Regions from separate parts of the Homo sapiens genome. Here region 2 is linked to region 1. The links are contacts of gene promoters, found by promoter capture Hi-C in human tissues and cell types (Jung and others, 2019). All regions are on one chromosome and are shown on one strand. Each heading gives the region's core, a stretch centred on a gene start or on the middle of the fragment in contact. The rest is flanking DNA. Distances are from core to core; before and after follow the strand shown. Region 1 holds the start of NUP210 (nucleoporin 210). Region 2 holds the start of LOC105376956 (a long non-coding RNA gene).

What was found. Contacts are between HindIII fragments. The study calls those that stand out against the background at their distance.
Region 2: a fragment that was not itself captured here is called in contact with the fragment with the promoter of NUP210 in region 1 in 1 of the 25 tissues and cell types used here (spleen).

The regions. Positions count from the first base shown.
Region 1 is chr3:13,417,601-13,423,257 of GRCh38, reverse strand. It overlaps NUP210 (nucleoporin 210), which reads left to right and starts at 2,936. Exons shown (of 40, transcript NM_024923.4): 1 at 2,936-3,198. The coding sequence starts at 3,032. RefSeq lists silencers at 2,702-3,101, 3,152-3,721. The HindIII fragment of the contact is 28,440 bases long and covers 1-5,657 here.
Region 2 is chr3:12,876,252-12,881,908 of GRCh38, reverse strand. LINC02022 (long intergenic non-protein coding RNA 2022) reads left to right here. Exons shown (of 3, transcript NR_136189.1): 2 at 2,916-3,004; 3 at 4,195-4,387. LOC105376956 (a long non-coding RNA gene) reads right to left here and starts at 3,610. Exons shown (of 5, transcript XR_940601.4): 1 at 3,522-3,610; 2 at 2,516-2,754. RefSeq lists enhancers at 4,719-5,231, 5,232-5,657 and a silencer at 5,639-5,657. The HindIII fragment of the contact is 6,664 bases long and covers 1-5,657 here.

The DNA.
Region 1 (5,657 bases), core at 1,687-4,186:
GGCTGTGCTCAGGCCATTGTCCATGGCTGGCTCCCTGCATCTCAGATAAACACTGACACCCAAAGAAGGGGCCCAATGCCAGGGAGTGGAAACAGCCCACAGAGAAGGTGGGGGTGGCCCCTACACATGGACCCCTGGCTTGGCCCCAAATACCATCTCATACCAGGTTTGTAGGCAAGTGAAATGGGGTCTGGGGGCAAGTTTAAGGACAACGTAAAGGGATAAAATCTCAGATGGAAAATGTTTTACCCATCATTTTGTTGCCTTTTTTTTTTTGAGATGGAGTTTCTTGTTGCACATGCTGTAGTGCAGTGGCTTGATCCCAGCTCACTGCAACCTCCACCTCCCAGGTTCAAGTGATTCTCCTGCCTCAGCCTCCCCAGTAGCTGGGATTACAGATGCATGCCACCATGTCTGGCGACTTTTTGTATTTTTAGTAGAGATAGGGTTTTGCCATGTTGGCCAGGCTGGTCTCAAACTCCTGACCTCAGGTGATCTGCCCACCTTGGCCTCCCAAAGTGCTGGGATTACAGGTGACAGCCACCGCACCCGGCCCATTTTGTTGTCTTCCATGGATTGTTTTCTGCTGGGAAAATTTCCTGATTGCCTTAAATCACCTGAAACGTAGTTGTTTAGCAAGCTGTGTCCACTCAGATGTGTTTTGCTGGGCCTGTTTGTATGATTCTTTTTTTGAGATAATTGTAGATTACATGCAGTTGTAACAAATAACAAGAGAGATGCTATAATATGTGCCCTTTACCCCGTTTCCACTAGTAGACATCTTGCAAAACTATGGGATAATATCACAACCAGGAAATGGACATTGATACAGTCAAGCCACCAAGCACTTCCATCCCAGGGACTCCTCATGTTGACCTTTTATAGCCACATCACTTCCTATGCCACGCCGCCCCTGACCCCACAATCACTCACCTGCTCTATACTTCTATAATTTTGCCAACTCAATAATCTTGTATAAAAGCAAGTTTACAGTATGTAACCTTTTGTGCTTTTGTAGTGTTTGTTTTCCAGTCCGTATAATTCCCTGGAGCTTCATCCAAGATGGATGTATTAGCAGTTCATTTCTTTTTTTGCTGAATAATATTCCATGGCATAGATGTGCCACAGTATTTAATCATCACCCATGAAGGACCTCTGTGCTGTTTCCAGTTTGGGCCTATTTGATAAAGCTGCTATGAATGTTTTATGTACAGGTGATTGTGGGAACATCACTTTTCATTTCTCTAGGATATATGTCCAAGAGTGAGATTTACCTGCCTCGCAAGACATATGTATATGTATGTATATGTGCCATATTTCATATATACATATGTGTGTGCATGTATGTGTATGTGTGTGCATGTGTGCCATGTTTTATATATATATATGCTTGTTTATGCATAAAATTTCTCTGGATGTATACTCAAGTGGGAAACACTCATTGCCTGTAGGGAAGGGTATTGGGTGATGGGGAGGGAGAGGAATCACTTTCACTTGGAACCCTTTTGAGCCTAAGTTTCAACCATCTGTCTGGATTACCTGTTGGAAAACAAATCAATCTTGTGCAACCCAGAAGACACCCACAGACTTCCTCACAAATACCCTCTGAGGCTGCCTTTTCCGCGCAAGTCTGTTTTTTGTTTCTTCAAAGGGAGCCCGTTGGAATTCCCCTCCCAGAGCACCTGGTTCCACACAGGGCCGACCCTCACCCCCTTAGTTCTGGTTATCTCCAGAGATTTCCCCCAACACACACATTCCCTGGTCTAGGGCCCTCAGGCTTCGAGGGTGACCCCAAACACCCCGCATCACCATCCAAAAGCCCCATGATCCCTGAGGGGCAGGCTCAGCCTATGCGGGCCTCGCTGAAGCCCAGTGCGGTGTCTATGCCCAACCCAGGGGCCGCCGCCTCCAAAAAGCCTTCCTAGCCTTACTGACATTTATCCTCTCCTTCCTGGTCACCCAGTGGCATCGTTGTGTGTCTTCCTGGTTACAGTCAGCATCCACTTCCTGCACTCCTCAGACAGCCGGCCAGTGCACCCTCACCCCACCCTTTCCTGACCTCCCGCTAGGCTGGGCCTTCTCTGCAAGGCTAGATTCATATTTTAGCGGCACCAAGCAGTCAGGTGCCTGCTGACGCATGCCTTCATGCAATTCACGACAGACAGCTAAAAGCCACAGAGCACAGCGCGGAATCTAAGGCCTTCCATTGGTGTGCAGGTGGATTCCGCGGTGCTAAACTTTCTTTTGTGGGTGTGGGGGCCGTGGAGGGGGTTGTGCTCTGGCAGCGTTGGCGCCCTAAATGACCTATAGGTAACCTCTAATGGCTTCCGCAGGGGGTGCAGTGCGGAGGACAAGAGCTTGGGGCTCTCTGGCTGAGTGATCTGGGGGCCATTCAACCGGTTTTTTCCTGGAGAAATGGGAATCTTAAGGCCTCTCTGGAAAGGGTGTGAGGGGGTCGAGGGGGAGCGGGCCCCGGGCCTTCAGCGCTTCAGCAGGTGGCTTCCCTTTGCGAGCCCGGGGTCCCTCTTCTGGGAAGCATGGGCTGGGACAAGGCAGGCGCCGGTTTTCTGCATCCCAAATGTCCTGGGGCATGTGTCCCTTCCTTGCTGACCGTGGGTCCGGGCCAGAGCGCAAGGTCCAAAGCCGGCGGCTTGGCTCCACCGCCAGGGGCAAATACCAGGGCGGGATGCGTGCTGCGGGGCGCCCCGGGGGCTCCCCCTTGGGACTTCTAGGGTCCAGGGGTCCCCGCGGGCGCGCCCCAAGCCTTCTCCCTCAGCTCCGGGGGCCCGGGCGCGCGCCCATCCCCCAGCCCCGCGTCCCTGCGCGAGGGCCGGGCTGGGGGTGGGGTCGCCGCGAGCTCGGCCCCCAGAGTTCCCGCGCTCAGGCCCAGGAAGCGGCGGCCGCCGACGGCCCTCGCCCCGCCCCCGCGCTCATCACCTGCTGGCCTGGCGCGCGCGCGGGCGGGAGCGGAGGGCAACGGGGCGGCGCGGGCGGCCGGGCGCAGGGTCGCGGGAGGTGACGCGCGGCGAGGATGGCGGCGCGGGGCCGGGGGCTGCTGCTGCTGACGCTGTCGGTGCTGTTGGCGGCGGGCCCCTCCGCCGCTGCGGCCAAGCTCAACATCCCCAAAGTGCTGCTGCCCTTCACGCGGGCCACGCGCGTTAACTTCACGCTGGAGGCCTCGGAGGGCTGCTACCGCTGGTGAGGCGCGCGGCCGGGCCGGGCGGGCGCCGTGGGCCGGGCTGGGCCTTCGCGCTGAGAGGCTGGGCGGGCGCCGGGAGGCCGGCAGAGCCGGCAGGTGCGCGGCGCGCTCTCGCTGGGCGCTAGGCTGCAGCACTCGGAGCGGCGGGTGCGCGTGGGTCGCCACCACTGCTCATGTCATGGCGCCGTCCGGGCCTCCGCGCCGCTGAGGCGCGAGCAGAGCGGGCGCAGCCTGGCGGCCGTGACCCGCGTGTTCTGGGTTGTGCGGGAGGAGGGGTGGCCTGGGGAGCGGCGTCTGGGACCGCAGGGCCCAAGCCGGCCGGGCCCGAGCCGGCCTGACCCGGGAGGGGGCGCCGGGGCAGCTGGGCCGCACTTCCCTTGAGTCTGGGACCCCAGCTCGGGTTTGTCTGTGACCGCCCTCGCCCTGGCGTGGGAAGTGAGTCTGTGAAACGAAGCGCAGCGCCTAGCGTCGCGGGGAGGAACGGAGACCCTGGAGGAAAGGAGTTTTGGAGGGAAGCCCAGGGGCCGCTTTACAGAGGCGAAGTGAGACGAGGCAGGCCGGCGCTTCCCCTCAGGCTGCCTCGGCGCGGGTCCTGATGCTCAGGGCATTTCCATCACCCTCCCTCTCGGGTTGGGAGTTCTCCAAGGGGTCGGATGCGGAGTGTGACCCTGTGGAACCACAGGGACCCATGAAACCAGAGACCGACACTGACAGGGCGGTGCAGTCCAGCCCTTCCATTTTGCAGACCAGGGGAAATGGAGCTCCTGCCCCTGGCAAGGCTGCGTGGGCACGACTGAGCGCCCTTAGCTTCCCAGCCCAGCCGTCCTAGGGGTGAAAAGATGGGCTTCCGCCCTTCCCACCCCCAGGATGCTCAGTAGTTGCTCCCTTTATTTCTGTTTCAAGACTGGGTCAAGGTTGAGGCAGAACGGGGTGTGACCACGTGACAGCCATGTGTGTAAGCCTGGACATGTGTGTGTCAAGCCTGTTTGAGTATTAGTCTGTGCGTGTATGTAAGTGTGATGCCCGAAGCTCAGACCAGCCAGCTTTCTCTGTTGCTTGCACTATTTGCCCTATTTCTTTCTTTCTTTTTTTTTTTTTTTTTTTTTTTTTGAGACGGAGTTTTGCTTTGTCGTCCATGCTGACGTGCAGTGGTGCGATTTCGGCTCACTGCAACCTCCACCTCCCGGGTTCAAGCGATTCTCCCGCCTCGTAGCTGGGATTACAGGTGCAGGCCACCTGGCTAATTTTGTTTGTTTGTTTGTTTGTTTTTAGAGTGCACTCCAGCCCTTGTTGCCCAGGCTGGAGTGCAATGGCGCGATCTCTGTCCACTGCAACTTCCGCCTCCCCGGTTCAAGCGATTCTCCTGCCTCAGCCTCCCGAGTAGCTGGGATTACAGGCGCCCGCCACAACACCCAGCTAGTTTTTTGCATTTTAGTAGAGACGGGGTTTCACTATGTTGGCCAGGCTGGTCTCAAACTCTGGATTCACTGTGTTGGCCAGGCTGGTCTTGAACTCCTCAAGACCAAGGAGAACTCCTCAAGCGATCCACCTGCCTCAGCTTCCCAAAATGCTGAGATTACAGGCGTGAGCCACCATGCCTGGCTTGTCTGGCCAATTTTTGTATTTTTAGTAAAGATGGGGTTTCACTATGTTGGTCAGGCTGGTCTCGAACTCCTGACCTCAAGTGATCCCGCCGCCTCTGCCTCCCAAAGTGCTGGGATTACAGGCGTGAGCCACTGCACCCGGCCTGCCCTATTTCTTTTTTGAAGGTCTCCTTCCTGAAATCAAGACGTACTAGGTCAGCCCATTGCATTTTGGTTTTAGTGCTTTATGCACCTGGAGGCTCCTATTTCTGGCCTGATGCCAGAGGCTGAACTTGGGCATTAGGTTTTCTGTATCCCAGTCTAAGGCCTAGTCTTGTGTGGGAAAATCAGCTGTTAGTCAATACTGTGGCGGGGATACATGCTCATTCTCTTGTTGAAGCTGTCTGTCCTCTCAGTATGTGGGCAAGAAAGAGGAAACTGGTTATTAAAAACAGCTGGCTTCAAGTGAATCCCTTTGGATATATTTGTGTGTTACTTTCTCTGAGATTCTATAGCTGTACTTTTTTCTTTTTCTAAACTAACAACACTTTTTTCCCCCCCAACATCATTTTCTTTTCTGAGAGGAGCTGAAGGGTGTTGGTGGATTTTAATTTACTTGGTAGGAAAAAGGGAAAAAACATTCTTAATCTCTGATGCATCAGAGAAGTGCTAAGTACCTTATAACGTGTTTGGCGTTGATCTGTAGTTTGTATTGCAGATGTGTGACTGCAGATGTGTGACTGCTATTCAAAGTGTCTTCTCAGAGGTGTTTGGAAATTGTGATTCCCCCTTAACTTGACAGGAAGACATTCTGTCAATCAAGCATTGAGAATATTTTCTTTATTTTTAGTATTGCTGTTCCTAGTGTAGTCGTC
Region 2 (5,657 bases), core at 1,877-4,376, 540 kb after region 1:
CCGAGTAGCTGGGATTACAGGCACCCACCACCACGCCCGGCTATTTTTGTATTTGTAGGAGAGACGGGGTTTCGCCATGTTGGCCAGGCTGGTCTCGAATTCTTGACCTCAGGTGATCCACCCGCCTTGGCCTCCCAAAGTGTTGGGATTACAGGCGTGAACCACCGCACCCGCCCTGGTGTCACCTCTTCGTATAAGGCCCTCTTCTTAGAAGGACACAAATTATCTCAGATCAGGGCCCCACCTTGTAACATCATTTAACCTTCCTGCCTTCCTTATTCCAAACACAGCCACCCGAAGGTTAGGGCTTCAGCACAGGAATTTTGGAGGAACATAAACATTCCGCCCATGATACTATTTTAGGTCTTGTTACAGTTCCTTCAGTAAGATTGATTGGTTTATTTTTTAGAGACAGGGTCTTGCTCTGTCATTGAGGCTGATACGCAGTGGTGCAGTCATCACTCACTGCAGCCTCGAACTTCTGGGCTCAAGCGATTTTACCACGATAGCCTCTTAAGTAACTGGGACTACAGGCACACCTAGGCTATAATTGATTTATATAGAATTCTTTGCCTTTCATATTAAACATATTCCTAGGTACTGGTGGGAATGTAAAACATTGCTATTTATATCAGCTAAACAGCAGGAACAACTCAAATGTCCATCCACTGATAAGTGAATAAACAAAATGTAATTTATCCATGTATTAGGATATTATTCAGCTATAAGAAGGAATAAATTAGTGACACATGCTGCAACATAGGTGCTAGGTGAAGGAGGCCAGTTGCAAAAGACTGCATGTTTTATGATTCCATTTCAATGAAATGTCCAGGCTGGGTGCAGTGGCTGATGCCTAAAACTGCAGCACTTTAGGAGGCTGAAGTAGGAGGATCACTTGAAGCCAGGAGTTCGAGACCAGCTTGGGCAACATAGCAAGGCCCTGTCTCTATGCAAAGTTAAAAATTAGCTGAGCTTGGTGGCATGAGCCTATAGTCCCAGCTACTTGGGAGGATCCTGTGAGTCCAGGAGTTAGAGGCTGCAGTGAGCTGTGATCACGCCACTACACTCCAGCCTGGGCAACAAAGAGAGAATCTGTCTCAAAAGAAAAAAGAAAACGTTATTCTTTGGGAAATAAGCCTAACACAGGACAAATATTGTATCACTCCACTCTTAGGAAGTACCTAGAATAGGAAAATTCATAGAGACAAAAATAGAACAGAGTGGTGTCAGGGGGAATGGAGAATTACTCTTTAAGGGGCACACGATTTCTCTTTGGGATGATGGAAAAGCTCTGGAAATAAACAGTGGTGATGTTTGCACAACATTATGAATATATTTAATGATGCTGAGATGGACACATAAAATGGTAAATTTTATGTATGTTTGATACTTTTTTAATTAATAAAAAATAGGAAACTGCTGAGGGAAAAAAAGTAAAAAATCAATGAGTGCCTAAAGCCCATGAACTTGAAAATGAGGCTTTGCCTCACAAAAACCCCAGCTGCCTCTGCATCTGCACCCTTCCCATGTGTCTCTGAGCCCCAAACTGGTGGCCCTTTTGCTGTCAGCCCTCCCAGTGGCTGCACTGGCCTTGGGGGCTCACCCAGCATAGGGGGCAAAAGGATAGAAACCCAGGGCTCCATGCCGGGTGCGGTGGCTCACGCCTGTAATCTCAGCACTTTGGGAGGCTGAGGCGGGTGGATCACCTGAGGTCAGGAGTTCGAGACCAGCCTGGCCAGCATGACAAAACCCTGTCTCTACTAAAAATACAAATATTACCCAGGTGTGGTGGCACACACCTGCAATCCCACCTACTTAGGAGGCTGAGGCAGGAGAATCACTTGAACCCGGGAGACGGAGGTTGCAGTGAGCTGAGATCACGCCACTGCAGCCCAGCTTGGGTGGGTGACAAAGCAAGACTCTGTCTCAAAAGAAAAAAAAAAAAAAGAAAAGAAACCCAGGGGTCCACCCAGGCTGAGAGCTCCTGAGTTCTGGTGCTGAGCCTCCTGAGTTTCTGGAACTTCAGGCTCTGAATCATGGTGGGGGCCAGAGATTTTTACTCAGTATGGGAGGACACGTGAGTTAGGACTCATTTCTTGGTCCGTAAGGCTGTGCAAGCATCCCCTGGCAACTCCAGCCAGCTTTGCTGCTGAAGGAAGCTGTAGACAAAGAGTGCAGAGAAGCCCCCCAGGCACCCCCCTCCCCAGTGGAGCAGGGCCTGGAAAGTCAGTGGCCTTCCTTTCTTCACAACCTCAGTCGCTCTCACCCCTGTGGCCAGTGTGGAAACTGGGATGCTGGGAAGCTTGCCCAGGCACCTTTGACCCCGCAAGTCCCTGGAGCTCTGCCTTGGGTAGGGCTGCAGGCCCCTGAGTTGCCCAGGCAATGCCTCCGGGAGTGCCAAGGCAGGAAACTCACTAGAGAGCTGGAGCTTTAAGAAAACTTCATGCCTAGGCCCCATCTTCAGCACCATGGATTTCCTTGGACTGAGAGAACCACTGGTGTGTTGAAGGCTTACCCAGTGATTTGAGAGTGTGGCCAGGATGGAGAAGCACACACTTCTGGATGCTGTCAGCGGAGGCCTTTGACCCAGGGCTTCTGCAGAACTAGTCAAGAACCAGTGGCTCCTCCACTACCCACAGCCCTGGACAATGACAGGCTGGGCAAGACAGACACATATTGGTGGGCACAAAAGATCTGTTTCTGTTCCTGCTTGGGGTGTTTCTGTGTGGGAAAAGAAATCCCTTCTTTCTTCATCTGGAACAGGAATTAAAAGAAATTAAAGAATGTGTAAGCAGAAACTCAGTTGTATGTAAGAAAACCTAATTCCCTCTGAGAAAGAGAAAGAGCTGGAGTCCTTTAAAATTAACTGCCTGTTTTTCTGTGGCTGTTGAGCCTTATCTCTCCTCCTTTCCCAGGCATTGTGAAGACCCTGTTTCCCTAGCTGTGCAGCTGCAAGGTCACTAGACAGATAAACTCAAGTTGCAAAACACGTTTTCCTAGAAAAGTAAGAAATCATGTAATGCATGTTTCAATTGAATAACTGTCTTTGTTTCTCACTTCTGTAGTATTTCCCCTGCACAAATCTCCCCCAACCCACAAAATGCTTAAAAGTTAACTCTTCGTTTGGGGCTCAGTCCTTTGGATGTTAATCCGACTGGGCCGGTGCACCTAAGTAATTAATAAATATCCTCCTGAGCCCCATTGGTCTCTCTGATTCCTTAAAAATCCCGCAACACCTCAAGGCCCAAAGCCAGCAGAACTGCTCTTCCACCTGGCCCTTCTAGTATGTTTGTGAATATGTTTCCTGGAGGAAGTTGTAATTCTACTGTCCCCTCTGGAGGCAGGCAGGGCTGAGGTCTGGAGGAGGCAGGGGCTCCCAGGAACAGTGAGACCTCTGAGCTGCTGTGTCTACATGGGGTCCTGGGTTGTGGACAGAGGCAGGTTGCTAGTTAGCACATAGACCAGTCAGAGGAGGCCCAAGAAGGAGTTGCAGCTGTTCTGGGCTGCGTTTGGGAACCTACGGCTGAGTGTGGCAGGCCTGTGGCAGTTGCCAGAAGCTGGCCCTGCAAGCCAGGGTGTGACCCTGCTGCTCTGTTGTCTTGCTCTCTGGGTCCTGTGGTGCTAGGAGGAGTCTTCTGGATGCTTCCTTCCAGGCCTGGGACAGAAAGTCAAGGGAAGAAGAGCATGGCCTGGTGGCCAGCCTGCCAATGACAAGTAGCTCTAGTGGGGAGAGGCCTAGGGACCAGGGCTGGATTCCAGGATCCATTCGGCAAAGGATCTCTGGCCAGCCACTACCCTCAGAGAGCAGTTATGAAGGAAAACCAGGTCAAGAAGCTGACGCCTGTCCCACAGGAGCTCACAGACTCAGGGTCAGACAGCCCTGGCAATGGGGAGGGACCTCTGTGACACTCGGGGCTGCAGCCACAGACTGAGACTGTGTCCGTGGGGTGTGCAGTGGAGACTTACCATGGTCACGGGCAGCACAGGTGGGAAATTGCACCAGTCACAGGCGGCCTGCAGGCCAGCCCTGAGCTGCAGGTGGGTTTTGTTTTATGTTCTGCAGTTTTTCTTTTAATCTGAAGTTTTATGACTCCAGTGTTTAACACACACACACACACACACACACACACACACACACACCCAAGATCATGTACAAAAATGCTGATTCCTGTGTCTCTTCAAAACGTCTTGCAGCCCCAGGCCTCCATTCTGCTTGCTGCAGCCGCTGGAACCACAGATGCTCCCTGGCAGGGCCACCATACCCTCCAGCACCAGCTCCTCACCTCATGCCTCTCAGGCAGATTTGGATCATCTGCCTGGCCAGGTAGGCCTGCAAGCCTATGGCCCCTGGGAAAGATATAATAAATGCCGTTGGCTTTTGATTTGCTTTTCTTGTTGCAGAAGGGGTTTTCTTGGGACAAAATTTGAGTGGAAAAGCATCCCAGACAGAGGTAACAGAGGTACAGATGCACGGACAAGAAAGGCCCCTGAGGTGTGGAGAGTATTGGTTCCACGGAACGGGTCCCCAGTGGTTTTATGATCAGGCAAGTTGGGAACACCAGTCCCAGTGTGCACATCACCACAGGGGCTGCACAAATGGATTCCAGCAATGGGGAGGCCAGCAGGTGCCCATGGCGCAGGTCCTGACGGCACATCAGGAACAGAGGTCTTGAAGGCACATCTTGAAGGCCTGCATCCTGTGGTCAGTGGGTACCCACCGAAAGGTTCCTCTGGAAGCCAACTCTGCTAGGTGGTGTCAGGTGTGTGCAGCTTCCACCATTCTAGGGCACCCTAGAAGTCAGCCTTCAGCTCGGCCTGCTTCAATATGGAGATGGTTTTTAACCCTTTGTTATTCTGTTGGGACTCTGGACATTTAGACGTCTGTGCAGGGGGGCTCATGAAGAGACCAACTTCCCTGATAGGCCTAGATATGGCCTAGCCTGAGGCAGAAAGGGAACACAATTGGGGCTGGATGTTCTTTCAGCTTCCCTTGCAGAGATCACTGACAGAGTGGTCAGCTTGGCCAAGCTTCTGCAAGGGCTGGCTGTGATGTCTGGGAGGGAGGCAATCCCCAGAGCAGGAATGCCTTCCCTGGGGCTCATATCCTTGCAGGGGAGGAGGCGGCCATCCTCCCTTCAAAGCCTCCTTCACTGCAGCCCATGGGAGGCGAGTGACCTGGGGGATCCGTGCCCAGGGCAAACCTCTGGGCTCTAGCTTAGCCCCACCTCCGAGGAACATTCACAGCCCTTCGGGAGGAGAGCCCTGCTGCAGGAAGACTCTAGGGGAGGGCCCAGCTGCGGGGTCCTGGGCTGTTGGTGACAGTACCCCAGGCTCCAAACTCTCTGTGCCCGGGGGGCAATTCCCTTCCCTGGTTGCAGCAGATTCCCACCCCGCCCTGCCCCACTGCCCGCCCCACGGGGAAGTGGCCCGGGAGTGGAGGCGTGGACAGGCATCCCGGTGTCTCGAGTCAGGCTGTCGGGCCAGCCTGGACAGCACGGCCCGCGGAGGGCAGACAGGGCGCACGGAGCAGGCCCCAGGCTCCAGAGCAGCCGCTGACAGGCTGTCCAGCTGCATCGGGTCTCCATGGAGACGGAAGCGGGGCCACAAGGTGGTGAGCGGCGGGGGGCGGGGCTTCCAACGGCCATCAGCCCCGCCCA